Regions from separate parts of the Homo sapiens genome. Here all the other regions are linked to region 2. Evidence: promoter capture Hi-C in human tissues and cell types (Jung and others, 2019). All regions are on one chromosome and are shown on one strand. The core of a region is centred on a gene start or on the middle of the fragment in contact, and the rest is flanking DNA. Distances in the headings are between cores, read along the strand shown. Region 1 overlaps LOC101927947 (a long non-coding RNA gene). Region 2 holds the start of SFRP2 (secreted frizzled related protein 2). Region 3 overlaps LOC101927947 (a long non-coding RNA gene).

The links. The method cuts DNA at HindIII sites, captures the fragments that hold promoters and counts their contacts. A contact is called where the count stands out against the background at its distance.
Region 1: a fragment that was not itself captured here is called in contact with the fragment with the promoter of SFRP2 in region 2 in 1 of the 25 tissues and cell types used here (mesendoderm cells).
Region 3: a contact is called between a fragment that was not itself captured here and the fragment with the promoter of SFRP2 in region 2, in 2 of the 25 tissues and cell types used here (mesendoderm cells and neural progenitor cells).

What each region holds. Positions count from the first base shown.
Region 1 is chr4:153,968,857-153,973,195 of GRCh38, forward strand. The region is part of intron 8 of LOC101927947 (a long non-coding RNA gene); the gene reads left to right. Among named protein-coding and RNA genes, the nearest start is that of SFRP2, 180 kb to the left of the region's middle. The HindIII fragment of the contact is 8,576 bases long and covers 1-4,339 here.
Region 2 is chr4:153,786,481-153,790,850 of GRCh38, forward strand. SFRP2 (secreted frizzled related protein 2) reads right to left here and starts at 2,603. Exons shown (of 3, transcript NM_003013.3): 1 at 1,854-2,603. The coding sequence starts at 2,355. RefSeq lists enhancers at 2,747-2,916, 2,831-3,532, 3,533-4,234. The HindIII fragment of the contact is 9,313 bases long and covers 1-4,370 here.
Region 3 is chr4:153,934,749-153,938,768 of GRCh38, forward strand. The region is part of intron 6 of LOC101927947 (a long non-coding RNA gene); the gene reads left to right. Among named protein-coding and RNA genes, the nearest start is that of SFRP2, 150 kb to the left of the region's middle. The HindIII fragment of the contact is 5,944 bases long and covers 1-4,020 here.

The DNA.
Region 1 (4,339 bases), core at 1,106-3,605, 180 kb after region 2:
TTTTAAATTGGATATGATTGTTTCATCTTGCACTTATGTACCCTGAAAATATCAGATAGCAACAGAGCACAGTCAGAATTCCATGCAAATCTGTTATTCTCATGGCAGGTAGAGTTGCGCAAGTCTCTAGAAGGGAGAGTATCATGGTAGTTAGTGGGGACCCCTGTCTCAAATGTCTCCTTAGTTAGTGTAAGGAGCTATAATCACTCCAGCTCTCTGTACTTCATTGCATGTGTTCACATAGATGAAAATTGTTGGACAAAACAGCCAAACTTGTGGTTGAAGCCTAGTGATTGGAGAGAAAAGACAGAACTAAATAAGAGCTCTCATTTATAAAATGTTGAAAAGAAAATCAGGCTGGGTGCAGTGGTTCATGCCTGTAATCACAAGGCTTTGGGAGGCTGAAGCATGAGGATTGCTTGAGCCTAGGAGTTTGAGGTTGTAGTGAGCTATGATTGCACTACTGCACTCCAGCCTGGGTGACAGAGTGAGATCCTAACTTAAAAAAAAATGAGTACCATCTAGGAATCTGATTCATACAATCATCTAAACCAGAGGATCTCAGCTTGATGTAAGGACACACTGGTGAGTCTCCATTTTTTTGGGATGTGTTGTGAATAACGTGTTCAGATGTATTAGGTATAATAGATAAAGTAATCTAGTTGCAAAATTTCACATGAAAACAATTAGAGCAGATTCAAGGTTATCCCTTTAATATTTTTATTTCTTTCATTTGAAGTCCAGTGTTTTTAAAAGTGAGAGGAAAAGGGGGTTTAATTACAACTAGGGTACAGGGAACTATGTATTACTCTGGGGGTTTCCATGGGACTGAGTCTTGCATATGAACTCATCTTGCCTGGCAGGAAAAAAAAAGTTGAAAACTGCTGAACTAAAAGATCACTTGTGAATCTCATAGCAACCTAGATTGAGCAATCACTAGGGACTCAGTGAGTACTAAAATTGATACATGTATCATTATTTGTCACTGGGGTGATCACACACACACATTCAACTTGCCTTTATATATAAGGTACACATATTCACTGTAAATGAATATTTAGATATTTGGAATATTTAGATATAAAAAGTAAATCATAATCCCAGGTGCAATCATAGTAATCTATCTCTAAGAATTACTCTGATAATTAAATGAGTGAATATAGCTGTCAAATAGTACAGCTGTGCCTGGCCCAGAGCCAGTAAGCACATCTGAGTGTAAACTGGGATCATGATCATGAACTCGGGCAAACATCGTTTTGATTAGCCCTATAGCTGCTCCTCCTCCAGCGTTTCCTAACTCAGTAAGTGGCACTCTCATGTTTTAAAGTTATTCAGGCCGAAACTTCACTCTTTCTATGTCTCTCACTGTGTAACCAGTACATTAGATAATCCTACTGATATTACCTTTAATATATATCCATGCATCATACAAAGATTAATAATTAATTGAAACAATGTCTTATTAATGAAACTTTGGATTGATTTCAAATTTTTCCCATCATAAAAACTGCTGGCGTAAGCATCTTTAGGAACACTCCTAATTACCACAGGATAAGTTGTTGGAAGTGAAGGGTGACCTCAGATATAATTATTTGCAGGCTTTTACTACACTACAGAGTCCCAGATTCTCTTTTAGGGTAGTTGTGCCATATCTGATTCCACCATCAATATAGAGACAACCTTTATTATAAAGCTTGCATTTGCATAGAAAGATTCCAGAGGTGGAGTTTTATTTATTGAGCTTGAATTGCACCAGAAAAGGTCAAGTATACTCAGCAGCATTTCAGATGTTTTGGGGGTGGCAAATATGAAAAAATATGATGGAGATAATTTTGATTTGAAGCATTAATGCACTTTTGGACTGTCGATTTGCAGAACAGTGAAAGGACTGACAGTCCTCAAAGCCAGGCAAGCACAGCAACCACTCTTCTCCCAAATGCAAAAACCCTGTAAGACAAACTATTTCTAAAGCTGATAATTCTGCCCTAACACAGGATGGTTACATCACCTCAAGTTTGAGTAAGGAGGAAAGAGAGATTTTTCCAGGAAATACTGCATGATTTCAAGGATTCTTGAGCAAAGATTGACAGAGAACATTCGTGAAGATGTATATAGGCAGTTCAGTCTTGCTTGCATGACTTTCTCTAAGATATACCAGCCCCCACGATCCAAGTGTTTCCCTTGTAATGTTGGTTAAAATCAGAGATTCCCATGCCAAGTATGAATGAGTTAAAAAATGTGCATTTTTGTGGTGCTTTATCTATTGGTCTTTAATAGACTTTTAACAGAAGTGGGAATAGAAGTGGGAATAGAAGTGGGAATGGAAGTGAATCACCCTGCTGGCCCTAAGGAGGCCTAGTAGCCACCTGGTTTAATACTTATGGTTAGAAATATAGAACTACCCTTGCAGTTTTGTGCAACTTGTGTTCAGAGAGCAGGGCTGGAAAAATTTGATATTCCAGAGGGCCTGCAGTAGGTTCTTCAGAAATTCCTGTGAGCCAGTGTCAGGAGAACAAGGAAGACTGTTACAGGAAAGCTATGAATGTCTGTAGAATTGTACCCTTTTCTCTTATCCCTATTCTATTGCTTGGGGACTTTGGTGTTGTTTTTTTTTCTGAGGATCCGAGGGTCGGGGGTGGTATTAGATCTGTGTTTCCTGGACATAGGGCCATAGCCTCCTCATACTCACACATGCTCGTCCTCTTAAACCTGGCAAGAGACTTTAGATAGGTAACCACCCTGCCACATGGTTAGGGGTAGATACACTTCTCTAGATGTTATTCCATCATCTCTCTAGTCTTAGGAAGCATCTCTGTGAGCAATAAAGTTAACTGACTCCAAATTTTTCTGATTAAGAGCAGAACAGAATCCTGCTAACATCACCATTACTGCAAAGATCTTAGACAAGAAAGAGGAACTTTTGGAAATATTTTGTAATCCACCCTGCTCTTTGTGAATGCTCTACAGTACTTAATCCATACAACAAGTACTTCTTTCTTGGGAATAATTTTAAATTTATTATTGTGGAAGCCCTAGTGATAAGCTGTGTAATTCCGATTCCTGCCCAGAGGTGTTGAATCGGCCAAGGGAAACTACGAGAATGAACCCAATTTCTCAACAATTTCATATGTTGGAGAATTTACTCATCCCATGTTCCAAGTGTTGCCCTAAGAGCCAGCGTGGAGCAGGAGACATGCATTAGCTCCATACCCCCTGCTTCCTGGACTCACAGAGTGGAAACTGGTCTCTCCATGACTCAGGGTGAGGAGGTTGGACTGGGGGCCCTGCTGTTCCCCCTCAGGGTGTCTGATTTTTATCTCCCTGATTTCACAGTTTGTTAATAACATTTTTGAAAGTTCTGTGGGCTCCAAAATTGTTTCCACAGTTTTATTTTATTTTTGGCATTAAAGATTTAATTTTGCTATTTCGTGAGAGTGAAAATGCTCTTGTCCTGTGATTTAAGTGTGTGACATTTCAGTGTTAAGTCCTGGACTGGAGAGCTGTAAATTGACTTTTTCTGGGTCACTTGAAGGTGAACTAAATGGTTCTCTCTTGTTCTGGAGAAAGGGTCTTCCCTTGCAGAAGCTGCATCCAGACAGCCCTTGTACAAGTCACATGCATGGCACCTAGAAAGAGGAAGTTTGGGAGCTTGATTCTACTGGAATCAACCTGTGCTAATGGGCTAATGAACTAGGTGAGACCCCTTCAGAGCCTTGCCTGCTTCAGTCAACAGACTTTGAGCGAGCATTTCCTATGTGCCATGCACAGTGTATGAGGTGCTGGGGGTACAAACAGGGAGAAGACACAGTTTGTGTCTCCCAAAGGCTCAGAGTAGGGAGTTGTAATTGGAGGCTGGGGCCACATTGCAGCTCTGCTGCTTACTCATTGTATAACAAAGTCAGTCACTTGACCTTGGTGAGTCTCAATTTTCTCATATGTAAAATGACTCCACACATCTGAGGTGTGATGAGAATCAGTTGTCAGTTGTCAGATGCCGTCCACAGTCCTCTGAAGTTCACAGTTGGAAATATAAACGAGTGCTTGCAATTATGTTCTTCATCCTTCAGAGACTTAGTCCTTCATCTGTAAAATAATTTCTCTACTCCTCAGGGTCGTGGTGAAGATGAAGCAGAATGATCTCTGAAAATCTTCTCTAATGGTGCTAGCATGCGCTAGTTGCTCAATAAGTATTACTTTTCTACCCTTCAAAACCTTCCTGTGGCCCAGATGCCTGGTCTGGCATAGAGAGGTTAGTTAGGGAGGTATGTTGTTTGAACCCTGAGGTGTCCTCCTACCTTTCTATCTGTTAATTTTGTATTAATTTTCAACACATATTAAA
Region 2 (4,370 bases), core at 1,353-3,852:
CCAAGTCTGGACTGGGAGGGGTGACTGGCTAGCGTTCCACATGTGGGCTGTTTCCACCTTGAAAACACATCTCACTAATTACAACAGCCTGCTCTAAGTGGTTCTGTGTCACCTTGTGCCTCTGCCAAGATTGTGCTTGAGTTAGGCAGCATTCATTTCATTGTTATCTGCAAGCTCCCTGGTACAGGTTCTTCTTGCCCTTCTGTGCCTGTTTCAAACTCTCAAAACAAACAAATAAATAAACCTGTTTCTGAAGCTAATCAAAGACGAAGCAAAAATGGTTTAGTGGTCTGATCAAACTTAGGGATTGTATACTAGCACAATTATCAGAAGACCTGCTAAAAGCTCTTCTAAGAGTTTGATTTCTTGGGAGAAGTAAAAAAAAAAAAAAAAGAACAATTATATTGCCCTTCTCTCATTTATAAATGTGTTAATTATGTCTTTAAAATTTAGGTGAAATGAGATTTTCACTAATGTGAAATTTAATGTTCATAGAAAACTATGTGACTTAATAGAAGCGTTATTTATCAAATTAGAAAAATCACAAAGCTGGAATTTTGAAGAACATAAACTTTTATTTTGAAGGAGAAAAGTGGCTTTTTGGAGAAATGTAAGATGCGTAATGTTGCTGCTGATAGTGGGAAGAAATAAAAGCAACATACATAAAACTGCCCTTAAGTCCCCTCACCCAAACAAAATCAAACATTTCCAATTAGGAGCTCTCAGGATGTATATAAAATATTACTAACCTGTATTGGTTGGTCTATGGTACATGTTGGACAAATGTTTGAAAAATGCCAAACATTTGCAATAAATTAGAAATCTAACCAATAAGATGATTGCAAACTCATGGTCCCTGCCAGGAAAGATTGCTAAAGAACTTTGCATTTGCTTTAACTAATGATGTCTGTAGGAAAACTACTAGAGATTGAAAGGGAGAGGCTGCTGAAGCCCTGAAAGGGATTAGGAAGCTCCCTTTTCCAACCCAGGGGACCCAAATCAGCTCAGAGGCATTGTATATGTTTTCCTTTCAGAAAAAATATTGAGAGCCCATGAGGTTTTCATTGCTTTGATGGTTTTTGCACAGGAACTCTCCCTCCGTTTTCTAAAAACTTGGGAATCTCTTTTGCATGATTTTCTCCAGCTAATCAAAACCACTCCTAAGTTAAAAACTGATAGCAATAGAAAAGTGATTTCCAGAGATTCCCTTTATGCCCTCTTCCTCAAGTATCTGAGCAGTTACAACCAATGTTCAATTTTCCACACACTCCGTGCCAGTCCCGGTTTTATTTCCAAAATCTAAATTGACAAAGGACAAAAAGACCCTTAAAAGGTTATCTACTTGTGCATCCTGGTTTTCCTTTCTGTACAGGAAATGTTCCTGTGACTAGAATCCTGCCCAGTGGTAGGAAGGTGCAGAATGAGGCTGAGCGAGGGGCCTCTGGCCAGAATGCTCACCACAAACTCCTCCACCAAACACCACTTCCAACGCTCTGCGCAGCTCCAGTGCTAGCATCTTTAACAATAATCGTGTATCTATTTTTTTTTAAACCGCCGTTCAGTTCTTCGTTTTTTTAGTTTTGTTGTTTTTGTTTGTTTGTTTTATTTTTAAACTGCCCTTAAGTATAGCTGGTACAACTCGGGAGGAGAATGCGCGAGACTTGGGCGGCGTGGGAGGGGTGCCTCAAATTTGATACAGGCTTGTTGTGATGACAGACCAGGTCAGGCAGAACTTCTGCCCTTCCCGCTACTGGCACCCCAAGCAGGGATGCACTGGGATGCGTGGCAGGGGCGGGATCTCCTGGGAGCGTCTCAGCCCAGCAGGGAGTGGGGAAGCAAGAGGGAAGGCTTACCTTCCTCGGTGGCTGGCAGGAGGTGGTCGCTGCTAGCGAGGGGGATGCAAAGGTCGTTGTCCTGGGGGAAACGGTCGCACTCAAGCATGTCGGGCCAGGGGAAGCCGAAGGCGGACATGACCGGGGCGCAGCGGTCCTTCACCTGCACGCAGAGCGAGTGGCATGGCTGGATGGTCTCGTCTAGGTCATCGAGGCAGACGGGGGCGAAGAGCGAGCACAGGAACTTCTTGGTGTCCGGGTGGCACTGCTTCATGACCAGCGGGATCCAAGCGCCGGCCTGCTCCAGCACCTCCTTCATGGTCTCGTGGCCCAGCAGGTTGGGCAGCCGCATGTTCTGGTATTCGATGCCGTGGCACAGCTGCAGGTTGGCAGGGATGGGCTTGCAATTGCTGCGCTTGTAGGAGAAGTCGGGCTGGCCAAAGAGGAAGAGCCCGCGCGCCGAGCCCAGGCAGCAGTGCGAGGCGAGGAAGAGCAGCAGCAGCGAGCCAGGGCCCTGCAGCATCGTGGGCGCGCGACCCCGAGGGGGCAGAGGGAGCGGAGCCGGGGAAGGGCGAGGCGGCCGGAGTTCGAGCTTGTCCCGGGCCCGCTCTCTTCGCTGGGTGCGACTCGGGGCCCCGAAAAGCTGGCAGCCGGCGGCTGGGGCGCGGAGAAGCGGGACACCGGGAGGACAGCGCGGGCGAGGCGCTGCAAGCCCGCGCGCAGCTCCGGGGGGCTCCGACCCGGGGGAGCAGAATGAGCCGTTGCTGGGGCACAGCCAGAGTTTTCTTGGCCTTTTTTATGCAAATCTGGAGGGTGGGGGGAGCAAGGGAGGAGCCAATGAAGGGTAATCCGAGGAGGGCTGGTCACTACTTTCTGGGTCTGGTTTTGCGTTGAGAATGCCCCTCACGCGCTTGCTGGAAGGGAATTCTGGCTGCGCCCCCTCCCCTAGATGCCGCCGCTCGCCCGCCCTAGGATTTCTTTAAACAACAAACAGAGAAGCCTGGCCGCTGCGCCCCCACAGTGAGCGAGCAGGGCGCGGGCTGCGGGAGTGGGGGGCACGCAGGGCACCCCGCGAGCGGCCTCGCGACCAGGTACTGGCGGGAACGCGCCTAGCCCCGCGTGCCGCCGGGGCCCGGGCTTGTTTTGCCCCAGTCCGAAGTTTCTGCTGGGTTGCCAGGCATGAGTGGGAGAGGGTGTGTGTGTGTGTGTGTGTGTGTGTGTGTGTGTGTGTGTGTGTGTTGGGGGGCTGCGTCCCTGGTAGCCGCGTGTGCCCTGTGATGGAGCCCGGGACCTGCCCGCCCGAGGCCGCCTCGGCGAACTTCGTTTTCCCTCGAATCTCCAGCCACCGTTCAGCAGCCTGTCGGTGTGCTCCCCAATGCCGTAAAAAAATCAGAATTATAAATATATTCGTATGAGCAGAACTTTACATGGAAAACGAAATACTAATAAAATGGGCTTGTTATTCTGTTGGAGTGAGTGCCTAGGAAGGGTTTCGTCGTTGTAGAAACGCCCCTACAAGAGTCTCACCAGTCACACAGGACTGCCCACCATTTCCCCGTTTTGGAGAGATTTTTCCTTCTTAAATGAATGGCATGACTCAATACTCGAAGGCATCACGGGCTCTAACACACAGCCGCCCTTGCAGCTGTGCGCTCTGGAAAGCTGGAGTATGGGCCCCCAGGGCACTGTTTGTAAAGACTGGTGGCCGGCACAAAAGACGGGCACAAAAGATGGGCAGGCTGGGAGGGAGCGAGGTAGAGGAAGGAGTCCTGCCTAGAGATCCACGAGGGCTAGAATTAGCTCATTCATCCCCTACGTACCAGGGGGCACCATGCTGGGCGCTGGATGTGCAGAAATGAACAAACAGGCCGGCCTCTGCTCTCGTGGAGCCTGGGATCTAGTGTCTCTGACTGCAAACAGTAAGTTCTGGGTTGGGGGGTGGGCTCCTTTTGCCTAATTGTCCCTAGTCTCCCTATGGGGACAGGAGGCCTTCGCTCTCCTCAGCCGCTGTCTCCGGGTGGCTGTGAAGATCCAAAGAGATAATCCCCGGAGGGCGAAGTTCTTTCATATGTAAGGTGGGCGCATTGTTATTACTTCCCGACCACTTAAGAGTCATTCACAGGCTCAGACCCCGGCTTCCTAATTTCCCTCCTTCCGGAAGATGCGTTGGCCTTGGCGGCTCCCAGGCCCAAGTTATCAGGCACACTTTGCGGTCCAGCTGCTTAGAGGAGCCGGGTAATGAATGAATGGGTGGCAAAAGCCCACTCAGTGTTATCTGCTGACCGTAAACACGCCAGGAAAATCGTCATCTGGAGAGAATGCACATTCTGAACTCCAAGAATCTGCGTCCCTAAGAGCCCAGCTTCCGGGTGCTCTGCTGGGGAAGGGCCCGGGGTAGCTGCAAAAGGCCTCTCTTTCCCCAAATTGGTTCAGGGCCTTTTCGTCTCTAACGAAAGCACCAAGAGGCCTAAAAGCCCCCTTCCCAACATAAACTACTTTGCAATGAAACCACAAAGGAAACAGAAGCACACCAAAAGA
Region 3 (4,020 bases), core at 1,003-3,502, 150 kb after region 2:
CAACTTAGTGTCATATGTGTGTCGTCTCCCTTATTTACTCAATTATATGAACCAATAACTGAAACATGAGAAAGAAGCAAATTTCGTGTCTGACTGTTGCCTCATATTGGAATCCTCCTGCCTCTTCAAAATGAAACAAGGAAGGCTTTAAGAGGAGAAGTTTCACAGGAAATGTGTGTGTGTGTGTGTGTGTGTGTGTGTGTATATTTTTTTATTTTTATTTTTTTTTGAGACAGTGTCTCACTTTGTCACCCAGGCTGGAGTGCAGTGGCATGATCACGGCTCACTGCAGCCTTGACCTCCTGGGTTCAAGCCATCTTCCCACCTCAGCCTCTTAAGAGAAGCTAATTTTTTGGTATTTTTTGTAGAGACAGGGTTTTGGTATGTTGCCCAGGCTGGTCTCAAACTCCTGAGCTCAAGCAATCTGCCTGCCTTGGCCCTCCAAAGTGCTGGCATTACAGGCATGAGCCACCACACCCAGTCTCACAGGGAATATTTGCTACCTATTTTTGTATATTTTATCTTCGCTCTCTTTGTGTTTATCTTCTTTCTCAATGCAGCAACCTCCTCCCCAAACTCCAGACAAGCCCTTTTTGTAGCTCTAAGTAGTATCTTTTTGTGCATGAATTTAGGTCATTGTTGTACCTTGGTCTCTGACTTTAGTTCTATTCTCAATACTAAATTCAAGTAAAAATACGTAAGGACAGAGAGAAAGGGAACATGACATCATTCACTTGCCATGGCTTGTTTTTTCTGATACCTAGTGAATGAATTGGCATTGTTTCAAACAAGGCCAATAGTTAGTGGGATTGAAAGCCAGGTCCTGTACCATGTTAATATGCATGAAAGGCATTTATTCTGTAGGTGTTAATCTCGTGAAAACCATTGGGCATGCCAATTCTCCCGTCTTCTGCTGTCTACATGATCAGGAAAAAGAGAGCAATTCCCTAGGAAGTAAACTCCATTGAGGCCTCATTAATTAAGAAAGAAGATCATGCATATTTGTAGTAGTTCAATAAGAATTGAGCTAAAGCTTGTGTTTATACTATCTTCTGTGGAAGCTTGTTGAACAAGAAAATAGTGTCCACAAGGTAAAGAAAACATTTATTTTACTTAAAACAACATATTAAGCAGGTCAGAAGCATACTTTCTTTTACAAATAATTGTTAAGATAATTAAAACAATTTTTACATTATCATTACACTATAAAAAACTCAGAGTAATAAAGTCAGATTTTAAAAATGTGTGTAATAACAATCATAAGCCTATGTAAAGGCTTATATAAAGGCTTACATAGATCCATGTAAAGATAAGGTTAACAAATATTTATTTCAATATTCTTCTTTTAGTCTTACAATAATCTAAAGTAGTATGACAGAAACTATTATCCCCATGCACTAGTTGGGTTAGTTAACTGTAGCTGCCATAGCAGGGAAACCCTGATAATGTCAGTGGTTTAACACAACAGAGGTTTCTTTCTCCCTCAGGAAAAGTGTGATGGTAATTGGATGAACCACCTCGATCTTGCAGCTATACCAAATAGAACATCTGACACATGTGGCCTCTGAGGTTGCTTCAGCTGAGGGAGGGCTGGAGGAGATACACTGGTTTGTACCTTCCTTGACCTGTAGAGATTCAAGTCGTGTGCTTTCAGATTTCACCAGCTCGAGTTAGTCACATGGTCTCACCCTGACTGCAGGGAGGTGGAGTGGTATATCTGGAAAGCATTGTCCTTCTCTGTCAAACACAATTTTACAAATAAGAGAACTCTGAATAATCAGTAATGTGTGCAAATTCACACAGATATCAAATGGAGAAGCTGGATTTTTCAAAGGTCTTTTAACCCCAGTTCCAATGAACATATACAATAGTGTCTCTCTACATAATCTAATAATAGTATCTCTCTATGTAATCTAATAATGTCTAATAATAGTTTACTAAATCAAATAGACTCTCATTTAATCCCGAGGACATTGAGACAGTTGTGTTTGTGCACATTTAGGAGAAAATATAAGGAGAACCCTGATTATTCCTGTTATAAGTATTATGTGGAATTCTAATTTAATGATAACACTTAGTACTTCATAGGCTTGTTATGTTTCCTATTCTCCCAATGTAACCAGATCTGTGATGGGGCAGTGTGGTGGAGTGGAAAGACCATGGCTTTGGTACCAGATAGATCTCTATTCACATTCCTGTAACAACACTTACCAGTGGTGTAATGTTTTGAGCAAGTTATTTAACTTCTATTATTTTCATTCTCTTCATTTATGTAATAGAGACAACAATATCATGTAGGCTTTTTAAATGTATAAACAAGTTAATATTTATAAAGTCCCTGGAAATAGTAGGTAATGTTATTTTTTAATTTCCCTTAAAAAGCAGCATGTTCAAGTTCATAAAGCAAGATATCTTAGAATTAGATGATGAAATACAAAATCAGACTTCATGCAAAGAAATTTCATCAAATTAAAAAATATATATAAGCACAAATACTTATCCAGTGGAAAAAACTGCCCAAACCAGCAATAAAAAAGCAATGTGAATTGAGGAAGAAATCCAGATATATAGCCACTGGCTGGGTTTGCGAGGTTAGATTGATGAAATACAGGCTGATCTATATTTCTTGGAGTTGATGAGTGTAGGTTTTGATGGACCATCTGATAGTATTTGCTCTGCACAGCCCCTGTTTTCATGTGGTTGATTATCTGTATTACACAGGAAGAAACAACGGGATGATAAAGTCTAACTGCAACAGTAAGTTTCCATGTGCGAGTCTGAAGTTGCTGTCAGTTAGTGTAACCAGAAGATGCTCTGGGAAACATCAGGGCTGGGCTGGGGAAGGGTGGCCGTGGAGCACTGGGTGTGTTTCATTTGGAGGTCATCACCAATGCCCCCTGTGTCCTGAAGCCATTATCATGTGAGGATAAATATCTTCTGGTTTTCTTGAGCAATAAAAACAGTGCTAGATTTTAAGCATATAGTGGTAGAATATACTCATAGCTGTATGGAAAATGTATATGTTGACATGTGGAATCCAGCAGAGAGATACATATACTGTCAGATTTCCCTGAGCTGAACATTCTCAAAGTCCAGGTCTTAAGTTTAATCCAAGATCCTATTGGGAAGGGGTTTTAACTTCTTCCTTTGGAGAGTGGTGTGGTCACCTTGGCTTGTTTTGTTGTAAAGTGAACAGTGAAAATAGAATTATGAGAATTGCATAGAAGTTAAAATTTGGCATCTTCCAGAATTACTTTTTATAGAAATTACCAAAAGCAGATAGAAAATAGCCAAGATTCTTTGGGCAAATTATTCCAGGGTCTTATGATGCTTCTTATTAGAGTAGTCTGGATGTGATAGTCAACGAGTCTTCCTCGGTGAAGTGTGGTATGAACTGGAGGTAAACTGGTTACTATAAATCAGAGTGGGTATATATTTAATAGAAATAAAAGCAATATCTTGAAGAGGTATATCCACTCACGTGTTCATTGCAGAATTATTCACAACAGCCAAAATATGGAATCAACCTGTGTCCATTGAAGGTTGATTGGATAAAGAAAATGTGGCATATATACACAATGTAATATTATTCAGCCATAAAAAAGAAGGAAATCCTGTCATTTGTGACAACATGTATGAACCTGGAGGACATTATGTTAAGTGGAATAAGCTGGGCACATAACAACAAATGCCATGTGATCTCACTTATATGTGAAATCTAAAAAAGAGAGACTCAAAGAAATAGAAAGTAAAATGGTGGTTGGTGGATTTAGGCTGAGGAAAATGGGGAAATGTTGGTCAAAGTCATAGTTATTCAGGATGAGTAAGTTCTAGAGAGCTAATGTTCAGCATGGCGACTGTAGTTAATAATACTGTATTGTATACTTGCAATTTGCTAAAAGAGTAGATCTTTAATGTTCTCAGCACAACAAAAAAGAAAATAGCTATGTGAGGTGATGGATATATCACTTAGCTTGATTGTGGTGCTCATTTCACAGTATATATATATATATATATATA